Regions from separate parts of the Homo sapiens genome. Here region 2 is linked to region 1. The links are contacts of gene promoters, found by promoter capture Hi-C in human tissues and cell types (Jung and others, 2019). All regions are on one chromosome and are shown on one strand. The core of a region is centred on a gene start or on the middle of the fragment in contact, and the rest is flanking DNA. Distances in the headings are between cores, read along the strand shown.

Region 1 (6,432 bases), core at 1,930-4,429:
TGCTCGGGAGGCTGAGGCAGGAGAATTGCTTGAGCCTGGGAGGCGGAGGTTGCAGTGATCCGAGGTGGTGCCATTGCACTCCAGCCTGGGTGTCAGAGCGAGACTCCATCTCAAAAAAAAAAAAAGTGTATTTTGGGCCAGGCGTGGTGGCTCAAGCCTGTAATCTTAGCACTCTGGGAGGCTGAGGCAGGCAGATTGCTTTAGCTCAGGAGTCCAAGACCAGCCTGGGCAACATGGTGAAACCCCATTTATACAAAAAATACAAAAATTAGCCAGACGTGCTGGTGTGTGTGCCTGTAGTCTCAGCTACTTGGGAGGCTGAGGTGGGAGGATGGCTTGAGCCCCGGAGGCAGAGGTTGCATACATTTTATGGTATGCTAACTGTACCTCAATAAAGCTGTTAAAAGCAAACACTGTGTTATTGTTGCTAGTTGCCAGAAGTTGGAACAGGAGAAAGTCTGTGTGAGGAGTGGGAATTTATCGATATTTAGCACTCTTTTTTTCTGTGAGGCAGAGTCTTGCTCTGTCACCCAGGCTGGAGTGCATTGGCACCATCTCGGCTCACTGCAACCTCTGCCTTTCGGGCTCAAGTGATTCTCTTGCCTCAGCCTCCTGAGTAGCTGGGACTCCAGGCAGGAGCCACCACACCCGGCTAATTTTTTGTATTTTTAGTAGAGACCGGGTTTCACCATATTGGCCAGTTGGTCTTGAAATCCTGAGCTCAAGTGATCCACCTGCCTCTGCCTCCCAAGATGCTAGGATTACAGGCATGAGCTACTTACCACACCTGGCCAAGCACTCTGTTTTTTTGTTTTTGTTTTTGTTTTTTAAAAGAATATATAAAATGGGCTGGACGCAGTGGCTCACGCCTGTAATCTCAGCACTTTGGAGTGGGGGTGGGTCACAAGGTCAGGAGATCAAGACCATACTGGCTAACATGGTGAAACCCTGTCCCTACTAAAAATACAAAAACAATTAGCCAGGCTTGGTGGCCGGTGCCTGTAGTCCCAGCTACTTGGGAAGCTGAGGCAGGAGAATCACTTGAACCCAGGAGATGGAGGTTGCAGTGAGCCAAGATCGCGCCACTGCACTCAGCCTGAACAATAGCATGATAGTCTGCCTCAAAAAAAAAAATCTATTTATCTATCTATCTATCTACCTATCTACCTATAGAGAGAGAGAGACAGAGGTCTTACTATGTTGCCCAGACTGGTCTTGAACTCCAGGACTCAAGCGATCCTCCTGTCTTGGCCTCCAAAGTGCTGGGATTACAGGAGTGAGCCACTGTGCCTGGCTAACACTCTTTTTTTTTTTTTTTTTTTTTTTTTTTTAGAGATAGAGTCCCTCTGTCACCAGACTGGAATGTAGTGGCACAATCTATAGCTCACTGTAACCTCAAATTCCTGGTCTCAAGGGACCTTCCCGAGTAGCTGGGACTGCAAGTGCATACCACCACTTCCTGGCTAATTTTTAAATTTTTTCTAGAGACAGGGTCTTGCTTTGTTGCCTGGGATGGTCTCAAACTCCTGGGCTCAAGTGAGCCTCTCACCTTGACCTCCTAAAGTGCTGGGATTACAGGCATGAGCCACTGTGACCAGTTTAGCTTTCCTTAAACATAGGAAAGAACCCCCCCTTAATCAATTTCATCAAACATGACTGATTTTTGTTTGTTTGTTTGTTTTTGAGACAGGGTCTCGCTATGTCACCCATGCTGAGTGGGGTGCAGTAGTGCAAGCATGGTGCTCACTGCAGTCTCCTGGGTTCAGGGGATCCTCTGGCCTCCCAAGGAGCTGGGACTACAGGTTTGAGCTAACATGCCTGGCTAATTTTTTTATTTTTAGTAGACAGGAGGTCTCCTTATGTTGGCCAAGCTGGTCTAGAACTCCTGGGCTCAAGAGATCCTCCTGCCTTGGCCTCCCAAAGCATTGGGATTACAGGCATGAATCGCTGTGCCTGGCCTGATTTTGTTGTACTGCGAGAGAATAAAATGCAGTATAACCTTAATTGTTTGGGGGTCTATTAGATTCTTATGTATTTATTTATTTATTTATTTTTCTAAAAATATAGATGGGGTCTCACTATGTTGACCAGGCTGGTCTCTAACTCCTGGCCTCAAGGGATCCTCCCATCTCAGCTTCCCAAAGTGTTGGGATTACAGGCATAAGCCACCGCACCCGGCTGACATTATGTAAACACTCTTTCTATTCTCCTTGAATTTCTCCTAATTTCTCCTTGAAGTGTACAGGGAAAATAAAAGGAGCTAGAATTCAAAGCCATCTAAATTCTATCTGGCTAATAGCTGTTTGATAAAACCTCCATAGGGAACAAATGAAAACTTTTTTTTTTTTTGAGATAGAGTTTCGCTTTTGTTGCCCAGGCTGGAGTGCAATGGTGCAATCTTGGCTCACCACAACCTCCACCTCCCTGGTTCAAGCAATTCTCCTACCTCAGCCTCCTGAGTAGCTGGGATTACAGGCAAGTGCAATCATGCCCAGCTAACTTTTTGTATTTTTAGTAGAAACGGTGGTTTCTCCATGTTGGTCAGGCTGGTCTTGAACTCCCGACCTCAGTGATCCGCCCGCCTCGGCCTCCCAAAGTGCTGGGATTACAGGCGTGAGCCACCATGCCCGGCTTGATTTATTTCTTAAATGGCTTTATTAAACCTGATATAAAGAGATTAATGTCAAATTGGAGCTTGTTATATCCACAGTCGGTGTCAGGTGAAATTGTCATTTGAAGTCAAAGCTACCCTAAATACAGTCAAATATCATGAAAGTGATTTCTAAAATAAACAAAAATGTACTTGGTCACAGAAAGTTTAAAAAGAAAATTGCAGTCTGTAAACTTCAGATTCACTACCTACCTCTCTGGCTCGATGGAGCTGTGCGCGCTCAATCCTAGAGATGATATCCTTTACTGAGAATGGGATCTCAAGGTTAGGGAGCATCAAAGGACTAAGGATATTTTGGGGCTCTCTTCTCATGATGGTGGAATCCTTGATGCATTTTTCTGATTCAGGGTCATTGTCTATCTCATTTTTCATTTTGAAGAACATTTTGAAAATGTGGGTGATTTCGTTTTATTTCTTCTTTTTCACAGAATCTACAAAAATGCTAATAAAGATATCCAGTAGGAAGCTAGGAGAGGTCTTTCCTGATCCTAGAAGTTGTGGCATACTCTGCTACTAATTGGTGGCTCCCATGATATTCCCGTCCTGTTGATGTCACAATAGACCCATTGTGACATTATCATTGATCAAACATGTAAAGAATGCTTACTATGTGCAGAGAACTGGTCATTCTATATGCTGCCATGGTAGAAGGGTGAGGGGGGAAGGAGGGTAGGAAATAATAGACAACAGGAATGCTAAAATAAACAGAAGATATAGCCCTGCTTAAATAAGCTTAAAATCTAGATGTGTTGGCCGGGTGCAGTGGCTCATGCCTGTAATCCCAGCACTTTGGGAGGCCGAGGCAGGTGGATCACCAGAGGTCGGAGTTCGAGACCAGCCTGACCAACATGGAGAAACCCCGTCTCTACTAAAAAAAAAAAAATACAAAATTAGCCATGTGAGGTGGCACATGCGTGTAGTCCCAGCTACTTGGGAGGCTGAGGCAGGAGAATCACTTGAACCCGGGAGGCGGAGGTTGTGGTGAGCCGAGATCACGTCATTGCACTCCAGCCTGGGCAACAAGAGTGAAACTGTCTCAAAAAAAAAAAAAAAAAAATCTAGGTGTGTCAAATATAACTCCTGGTTCTTCTCTCTTCCTGGGGTTTTGCTTAAGTATTTTTAAGCCTGTAATGGAATAAAGGTTACAACTACTTCCTCAGCTGCCCCTTAACTTTTCCTAGACATGTAGTAACTTGGATGATATCATTTGGATGAAGTAACTTGGATGATATCATTTGGATGAGGATCACACTCTTTGCACTGCTTACTCTTTTTTCTTTTCTTTTCTTTTCTTTCCCTTTTTTTTGGAGACAGAGTCTCACTTTGTTACCCAGGCTGGAGTGCAGTGGTGTGATCTTGGTTCATGGCAACCTCTGCCTCCCAGGTTCAAGAGATTCTTGTGCCTCAGCCTCCCTGAGTAGCTGGAATTACAGGTGCGCGCCACCACGCCTGGCTAATTTTTGTTTAATATTTGCTTCCAATTTTTTTAATAATAAAAAAGCATTACAGAAGGTTGAAGTCCTCTTTGATGTCCCCCACCCCTGGTTCCTTCCTTCCCCACTGTCCCATTCCAGAGGAAATGACAATCATGAATTTTACATATTTGTGTTATCTATTTTTACATAGTTTTACTACAGGTGTATGTATTGTTTTTTCTTTCTTTCTTTCTTTCTCCTTCCTTCCTTCCTTCCTTCCTTCCTTCCTTCCTTCCTTCCTTCCTTCCTTTCTTTCTTTCTTTTTTTTTTTTTGAGGCAGAGTCTCACTCTGTTGTCCAGGCTGGAGTGTAGTAGTGCCATCTCAGCAGACTGTAACCTCTGCCTCCCAGGTTCAAACGATTCTTCTACCTCAGCCTCCCGAGTAGCTGGGATTACAGGCATGCGCCACCACACCTGGCTAATTTTTTTTTTTTTTTTTTTTGAGACGGAATCTCGCCTGTGGCCCAGGCTGGAGTGCAGTGGCATGATCTCGGCTCACTGCAAGCTCCGCCTCCCAGGTTTGCTCCATTCTCCTGCCTCAGCCTCCCGAGTAGCTGGGACTACAGGCGCCCGCCACCACACCCGGCTAGTTTTTTGTATTTTTTAGTAGAGACGGGGTTTCACCATGTTAGCCAGGATGGTCTCGATCTCCTGACCTCGTGATCTGCATGCCTTGGCCTCCCAAAGTGCTGAGATTACAGGTGTGAGCCACTGCACTCGGCCTACACCTGGCTAATTTTTTATATTTTTGGTAGATATAGGGTTTCACTGTGTTGGCCAGGCTGGTCTCAAACTCCTCAAGTGATTCACTCACCTCGGCCTCCCAAAGTTTAGTTGTCAACTAAACTAAATTTGCATTATTCTTTCTCTCTCACTTGCATCTTTTATGCAGCATGGAATTCATCAATCAGCAACTAGACATGAAGGCTTTTCTTTGAGACAAAATCTCACTCTGTCACCCAGGCTGGAGTGCAGAGGCACGATCTAGGCTCACTGCAAGCTCCGCCTCCCAGGTTCACGCCATTCTCCTGCCTCAGCCTCCCAAGTAGCTGGGACTACAGGCGCCCACCACCACGCCCGGCTAATTTTTTGTATTTTTAGTAGAGAAAGAGTTTCACCGTGTTTGCCAGGACAGTCTCGATCTCCTGACCTCGTGGCCTCCCAAAGTGCTGGGATTACAGCCATGAGCCACCACGCCTGGCCATGAAGGCTTCTTAAAGTCAATTTTTAAATCCTGCTTCCCTTTCAATTCGACAAGCATTTGTTGAAACACTATGCAGCTTACATTATCCTAAACTGAAGAATATATGATAGGGTTCCTGTGAAGAAACTAAAACAAAAAAGAAAAGATTTAAGATAGAATATAATAATCAAGTGCTAATAAGGGACACGAAGAAGAGATCTGTAGAAGCAGAATCTTTGAGAAAACCTTATGGAGAGAGAAGGTTGATTGACAAATGGAGGCAATCCAGGTAGGGGCAACACCTTGAGCCATGGCTTTGGCGGTGAGTGCTAATGAGTTTGCATCTTAGGGGGAAAGTAAGGAGATTGGTTTAATCACTGAGATGACTTCACGGGAATTTACTGAGGACCACATTAGGGTGGGCCTGAGATAACAGATATCAGCAATTTGGTGGTGGAATTAATTTGGTATCTGAGGAGATTCCATTTGCGGCAAAGCAAGGAGGATTTCATGAGATCAGAATGGCAAAGTCTTGAAATCAAGTAACAGTGGTTTGGTGAAAATGAAACCTTCACTTTGGGAAGATTTTTTAAATAATAGAATGGAAAAATCCATTGGAAAAGATCAAGACATGATTATTTCATTTTTATTTATTATTATTATTTTTTAGAGACAGAGTCACACTCTGTCACCCAGGCTTGAGTGCAGTGGCGTGATCTTGGCTCACTGCAACCTCTGCCTCCCAGGTTCTAGCAATTCTCCTGCCTCAGCCTCCCACGTAGCTGGGACTACAGGCACACACTGCCATGCCTGGCTAATTTTTTGTATTTTACTAGAGATGGCATTTCACCATGTTGCCCAGGCTGGTCTTGAACTCCTGAGCTAAGGCAATCCACCCGCCTCGGCCTCCCAAAGTGCTAGAATTACAGGCGTGAGCCACGGTGTCCGGCCAATTTTTATTCGTTACTATTATTATTACTATATTTGAGACAGAGTCTCACTCTGTCACCCAGGCTGGAGTGCAGTGGCGCGATGTTGGCTCACTATTAACTCCACCTCCTGGGTTTAAGCGATTCGCCTGCCTCAGCCTCCCGAGTAGCTGG
Region 2 (6,432 bases), core at 2,937-5,436, 250 kb before region 1:
GAATATTCCTCTCTGTTTCTTTGCCCACTTACCTTGGTAATAGATATGAACACCTTTTCAAGGATGGCATTGGGTTGGGCCTGATAAGGACCACTGTCCTCGATGCCAATACAGAGTGCACAGGGTTTGGCAATAAATCTGTAATGGAGAAAACCCACGGGCCAATTCTTTTTAAAAAAATTTTATTTATAGTTGACACATAATAATTGTACATATTTATGGGGTACAATGTGATGTTTCAATGCATGTATACATAGTATAATGATGAAACTGGGGTAATTACCATATCCATCACTTTCAACATTTATCACTTCTTTAGGGTGACAATGTTCACCAGCCTCAGTCTCCCAAAATGCTGGGATTACAGGCGTGGGCCACTGTGCTGGCTGGAAGCTTTTTAGAGATGCATAATCTTGAGCCCATCTCAGACTTGCAAAATCAGAATCTGCATTTTAACAAGATCCCCAGGTGATTCACATGTCCATTAAAATGTGAGAACCACTAATCTACTTCATAAGAATCTTGTAAGTAATTCAGTGAGATAATGTATATGAAAGACCCTGGCACAAAGGAGGTGATTAATAAATGGCAGTTTCCTTACATCAAAAGACCAAGATCTTAATTGGAGGGAAAAGTAGAACTGAGACTAAGCTCTTCCTGCATATAGATATCCTGGATCTTGGATACCTTCCTGCCTAACCAAGAGATTATGGAAATACTTAGATCTTTCAGGAGTCGAGAAGAAAGAAATCAGGAAGCTAGGAAAGGTGAGAAGGAAATCACCTATTAGCACTCTATCGTAGTCTCAGATCTACTAATAAGGCATATAAACTTGGTAAAATCACTTACCTCTTGGGTCTTGGTTTCATCATCTAAAAGAAGAGGTTATATCAAGCAGAGTCCCAAGGATTTAAATTTTTAAAAAGAATAAAAAAGCCGGGCGTGGTGGCTCACGCCTGTAATCCCAGCACTTTGGGAGGCTGAGGCAGGAGGATCACAAGGTCAGGAGTTGGAGACCAGCCTGGTCAACATAGTGAAACCCCGTCTCTACTAAAAATACAAAAAAAAATTATCTGGGCGTGGTGGTGGGCGCCTGTAATCCCAGCTACTTGGGAGGCTGAGGCAGGAGAATTGCTTGAACCCTGGAGGCGGAGGTTGCAGTGAGCCGAGATTGTGCCACTGCACTCCAGCCCAGGCGACAGTGTGAGAATCCGTCTCAAAAAAAAAAAAAAAAAAAAGAAGAAGAATAAAAAATAAAAAGAGGTTATATGAGATGATTTCTAAGATTTTTTTGTATATCTAAGATTCTATGATGTTATCATTGATTGATTATAATTAATTTCCAACTTTTGAATCTTTGAAAATTGAGGAACTATTCCTTGGTTCTTCAAGAAAGATCTCACTCTCCCCCGTAATCAGAGATTTTTAAGAACATCAGCACTAGGAAAACTCTATATTGCCACTTTCAGGATAAGTCAAAACCAGTTTTAGCCCTTAGCATCTTAAGGAGTCCCATAATGAAAATATGACTGGGAGGTGTAAAATGGAGTGCCGTTAACCTATTTTCTTGAGCTGCATTTGAACCTAGAATATATTATCTCTAAAGGAGGGATTGAGAATAAGAAACTTTATCTCCCTCTATGAAAACTTTTTACCTTATCACCAAAGTTCCTGAGCCATAGAGTAATATTTATTCAGAGCATAAATTTAGCCACATCTGTAACACATTCTCTTTTACACCGGTGGGGGGGAAAAAAAAAATAGTTCCATTCAAAGGCCAATGCCAGTGGATACCTTAATTTACATTTACTGGTATACTATTCTGTATACCAATAATATTTAACCCCCAACTCATGTTTAAACTCCTTGTAAACACAAATAGACTGCTTTTATATTTACCAAGGTACTATGCTCAGCAGTTGCTCAGTAACTGACAAGCAACATGTTTTAGTGAAACCCACTCTTGTTGTATTGGAGGTCAATTCTGACCCAAAATTAATCAGCATTCAGAAGAGTAAATGAGGCCGTCATTCTTTGTTGTTGAGTTGATGCCATATCAGAGATAAAAATCATCTAAAAACCCTGTCTCCTCCTTTCTCCTATCGACATAATTGCATGAAAATCCAAAGGCAGAAAACAGCCTTTCCAATTCCTACTCTTACCCCTAACCCAGGCTTCTTTAATCCAGAGGCAGTCAGCTGATTAAAACTCAGATCTGCAGTTAGACAGATTTTACCAGCTGAAAGACCTTGTGACTGTTACATACCCATAGAATGGAGATAATATCTACCTCACAGGGTTATTTTAAAGATAAAATGAAACAATGTATGCCTACACCAATACCTGACACTTAGCAAACATTCATTAAAGAGTAGCTATTATTATTTCACTAGAAACATATTTCAGTCTGGGTACTCTCTGGTACCTCCAGCAGAAAGTGAGAAGCAAGAAATACTCTTTGATATAACAGGTCTATATTCTGCTCACCTCGGTGAAGCCAATTTTAAAATTACTATTATCTGGATCATGGAGTGGACTTAACAATCTAGAATTGTCATTAGCTCACATCCTGCCCTCGTTAGTTCAGAGTTCGGTGAAAAGCATAAAGCTACTCATATCCAGTCAGTTCCAGCTATATGGAGCGTAAGAACATTTGACAGCCGGGCGCAGTGGCTCACGCTTGTAATCCCAGCACTTTGGGAGGCCGAGGTGGGCGGATCACGAGGTCAGGAGATCGAGACCACGGTGAAACCCCGTCTCTACTAAAAATACAAAAAATTAGCCGGGCGTGGTGGCGGGCGCCTGTAATCCCAGCTACTCGGGAGACTGAGGCGGGAGAATGGCATGAACCCGGGAGGCGGAGCTTGCAGTGAGCCGAGATCGCGCCACTGCACTCCAGCCTGGGCGACAAAGTGAGACTCCGTCTCAAAAAAAAAAAAAAAAAAAGAACATTTGACAAATACTTGTTGATTGTTTATTTTGTGCTACAGAATGAAGCTTTATTATATTTTCCAGATGTGATTGGAAAATAATCTTTTCTAATTTGTGATAAAAATTAAATATATAGATTTAGTTATACACAGTTAATGAATTACCTTACTGAAGAAAGTGAAATTATTTGAAATTATAGCTTTTGAGAAAGTATTAATTCTACATCATACAAAAGGTTGGTATTTGGTATAACTTATAAAACAGGTATCTAGGCCAGGCGCGGTGGCTCATGCCTGTAATCCCAGCACTTTGGGAGGCTGAGGCGGGCGGATCACGAGGTCAGGAGTTCGAGACCAGCCTATCCAACATGGTGAAACCCCATCTCTACTAAAAATACAAAAAGTTAGACAGGCGTGGTGGTGTGTGCCTGTAACCCCAGCTACTCAGGAGGCTGAAGCAGGAGAATTGCTTTTACCCAGGAGGCGGAAATTACAATGAGCTGAGATCACGCCATTGCACTCTCTCTGGCCTGGGTAACAGAGCGAGACTCCATCTCCAAAAAAAAAAAAAAAAAAAATAGGTACCTAGGGTGGTCAATTTCCAGAGCCTGGCATTCATCATTTCTGCTACATCAGCATTTCTCAAAGTGTGGTTTAGAGACCCCTGGGGGATCCAGAGACCCTTTCAGTAGGTCTACAAGGTCAAAACTATCTTCAGAATAATTCTATAATTTCATAAAAATCTATTCTCTCTCATGAGAGTACAGTGGAACTTTCCATAAGTTACATGACATATAACAACAGACTGAATGCAGACGCTGACATGAGACTACAGCTGCCAGATATTTTCAAAAATGTTAAAATGCTACTCTTCTCACAGTTTTTTGTTTTGGAAAATAGTTATTTTTCATAAAACGTAATGAGTTCATTGTTATTTATTTATATTGAGACAGGGTCTCACTCTGCCACCCAGGCTGGAGTGCAGTGGTGTGATCACTGCTCACTGCAGCCTTGACTTCCTAAGCTCAAGTGATCCTCCCACCTCAGCCTCTCAAGTAGCTGGGACTACAGGTGTTGGCCATGCCCAGCTAATTAAAAAATTTTTTTTTTTGTAGAGACAGGGTTTCACCATGTTTCCCAGGCCATTGCTATTTTTAAATGAATAAATATGGGCTGGGCACGGTGGCTAATGCCTGTTATCCTAGCACTTTGGGAGACTGAGACAGGTGGATCACTTGAGCCCAGGAGTTTGAGACCAGCCTGGGAAACGTGGTGAAACCCTGTCTCTCCCCAAAACACAAAAGTTAGACAGGTGTGGTAGCTCATGCCTGTGGTCCCAGCAACTTGGGAGGTTGAGGTGGGAGGATCACTTGAGCCTGGGAGGTCGAGGCTGCAGTGGGCTGTGATTGCGCCACTGCACTTCAGCCTGTGTGATAGAGCCAGATCCTGTCTCAAAAATAAATAGGCTGTATGCGGTGGCTCATGCCTGTAATCCCAGCACTTCGGGAGTCTGAGGTGGGCAGACTGCTTGAGCTCAGGAGTTCAAGACCAGGCTGGCCAACATGGTGAAACCCCATCTCTACCAAAAAATACAAAAATTAGCCAGGCATGGCGGCACATACCTGTAGTCCCAGCTGCTCAGGAGGCTGAGGTGAGAGGATCTCTTGAACTCGGGAGACAGAGGTTGCAGTGAGCTGAGATCTCACCACTGCACTCCAGTCTGGGCGACAAAGCAGACTCTGTCTCAATAATAAATAAATAAATAGGCCGGGCGTGGTGACTCAGACTTGTAATACCGGCACTTTGGGAGGTTGAGGCAGGCTGATCACTTGAGGTCAGGAGTTTGAAACCAGCCTGGCCAACATGGCGAAATGCCATCTTCTACTAAAAATACAACAACAAAAAATTAGCCGGGCATGGTCGTGCACACCTGTATTCCCAACTACTCAGGTGGCTAAGGCAGGAGAATTGCTTGAACCCGGGAAGCGAAGGTTGCAGTGAGCCAAGATTGCGCTACTGCACTCCAGTTGGGGTGACGGAGCGAGACTCCATCTCAAAAAAAAAAAAAAAAAAAAAAAATATATATATATATATATATGTGTGTGTGTGTGTGTGTGTGTGCGTGTAGACATTTTATACATGTATAAATACATGTAGAAAACATGTACATTTTCCCCATTTTTTTTCTAAAACAGTAGACATTGATAGGTACTATCCACATAAACAAAAACTCTTTGGGATCCTTGAAAATTTTTTAAGATTGTAAAGGAGTCCTGAGATCATAGTTTGAAAACTGCTGTGCTAGATGATACTGACAAATTATACTTTTAGTGTGGCTTTCTGTCTTCTCCAGGATCAATCCACATTTTAAAATAATTTGTCAGACAAGATTTTTCCTTTCCTGGCAGATTTTAGTAAGTAGGCATTTAGTGGTCTATAAAAAGAAGCTACTACTTTCCACCTGTAACTCCAGGAACACGAGTCTAGTGACCCATCCTGACAGTATTAGATTTGTCCTGCTTTGTAGAGATCATTTCACTCTGCCCTTTTCCTGCTCTCCAGATACATAGCAGCAGTTGACCTAAGCCTGGGTTAATTAGGATGAAATTACCTAGTGCTTTCGCTTTTTCCTATCAAAGACAGGATGTATATTCACAATGCTACTTTTGTGATTCATTACACCACTGATGAATATGAATTATACACAAATAAAACCAAAGTCTAGATTAAGCTTCTCAACTATTGTGGCAAGTAACACAAATGGGCTATACTTATGCTGAGATATTGATTTTAGCTCTCAGGGTGATCCATGGGGCCTTCGGGTAGCCAGAAACCTTTAGTCTGTAGTCTCTGGCCTCATATACCTTACTGTATAATGCAAATGTTATTTATGTATTTATTTAGAGACAGAGTCTCGCTCTGATGCCTAGGCTGAAGTGAAGTGTGGTGGCGTGATCTGGGCTCACTGCAACCTCCGCCTCCCAGGTTCAAGTAATTCTTGTGCCTCAGCCTCCCAAGTAGTAGCTGGGACTACAGGCGTGCACCACCATGCCCAGCTAATTTTTGTATTTTTAGTAGAGACGGGGTTTCACCACATTGGCCAGGCTGGTCTTGAGCTCCTGACCTCAAGTGATCTGCCTGCCTCGCCTCCCAAAGTGCTGGGATTACAGGCGTGAGCCAGCATACTCAGCCACAAATGTTATTTTTTATGTGTGCAGCAATATTTCCAGATTGAGAAGTACCAGCTTAGATCAATTTCTGGAAAAATATAAAGTGCCAAAGTAGACATATAAAAAGAACAGGAGTTTAAGACCAGTCTGGGCAACATGGTGAGACCCCGTCTCTACAAAAAATTTTAAAAATTAGCTGGATGTGGTGGCATGTGCCCATGGTCCCAGCTACTGCGGAGGCTGAGGCAGGAGGACTGCTTGAGCCCAGGAGGTGGAGGCTGCAGTGAGCCCTGATTGTGCCACTACACTCCAGCCTGGGTGACAGAGTGAGA

What was found. The method cuts DNA at HindIII sites, captures the fragments that hold promoters and counts their contacts. A contact is called where the count stands out against the background at its distance.
Region 2: a fragment that was not itself captured here is called in contact with the fragment with the promoter of FAM186A in region 1 in 2 of the 25 tissues and cell types used here (IMR-90 fibroblasts and aorta).

What each region holds. Positions count from the first base shown.
Region 1 is chr12:50,393,430-50,399,861 of GRCh38, forward strand. It overlaps FAM186A (family with sequence similarity 186 member A), which reads right to left and starts at 3,180. Exons shown (of 8, transcript NM_001145475.3): 1 at 2,864-3,180. The coding sequence starts at 3,055. The HindIII fragment of the contact is 8,551 bases long and covers 1-6,106 here.
Region 2 is chr12:50,143,920-50,150,351 of GRCh38, forward strand. It overlaps CERS5 (ceramide synthase 5), which reads right to left. Exons shown (of 10, transcript NM_147190.5): 2 at 33-138. The region is part of intron 1 of LOC124902931 (a long non-coding RNA gene); the gene reads left to right. Among named protein-coding and RNA genes, the nearest start is that of CERS5, 20 kb to the right of the region's middle. The HindIII fragment of the contact is 4,983 bases long and covers 1,696-6,432 here.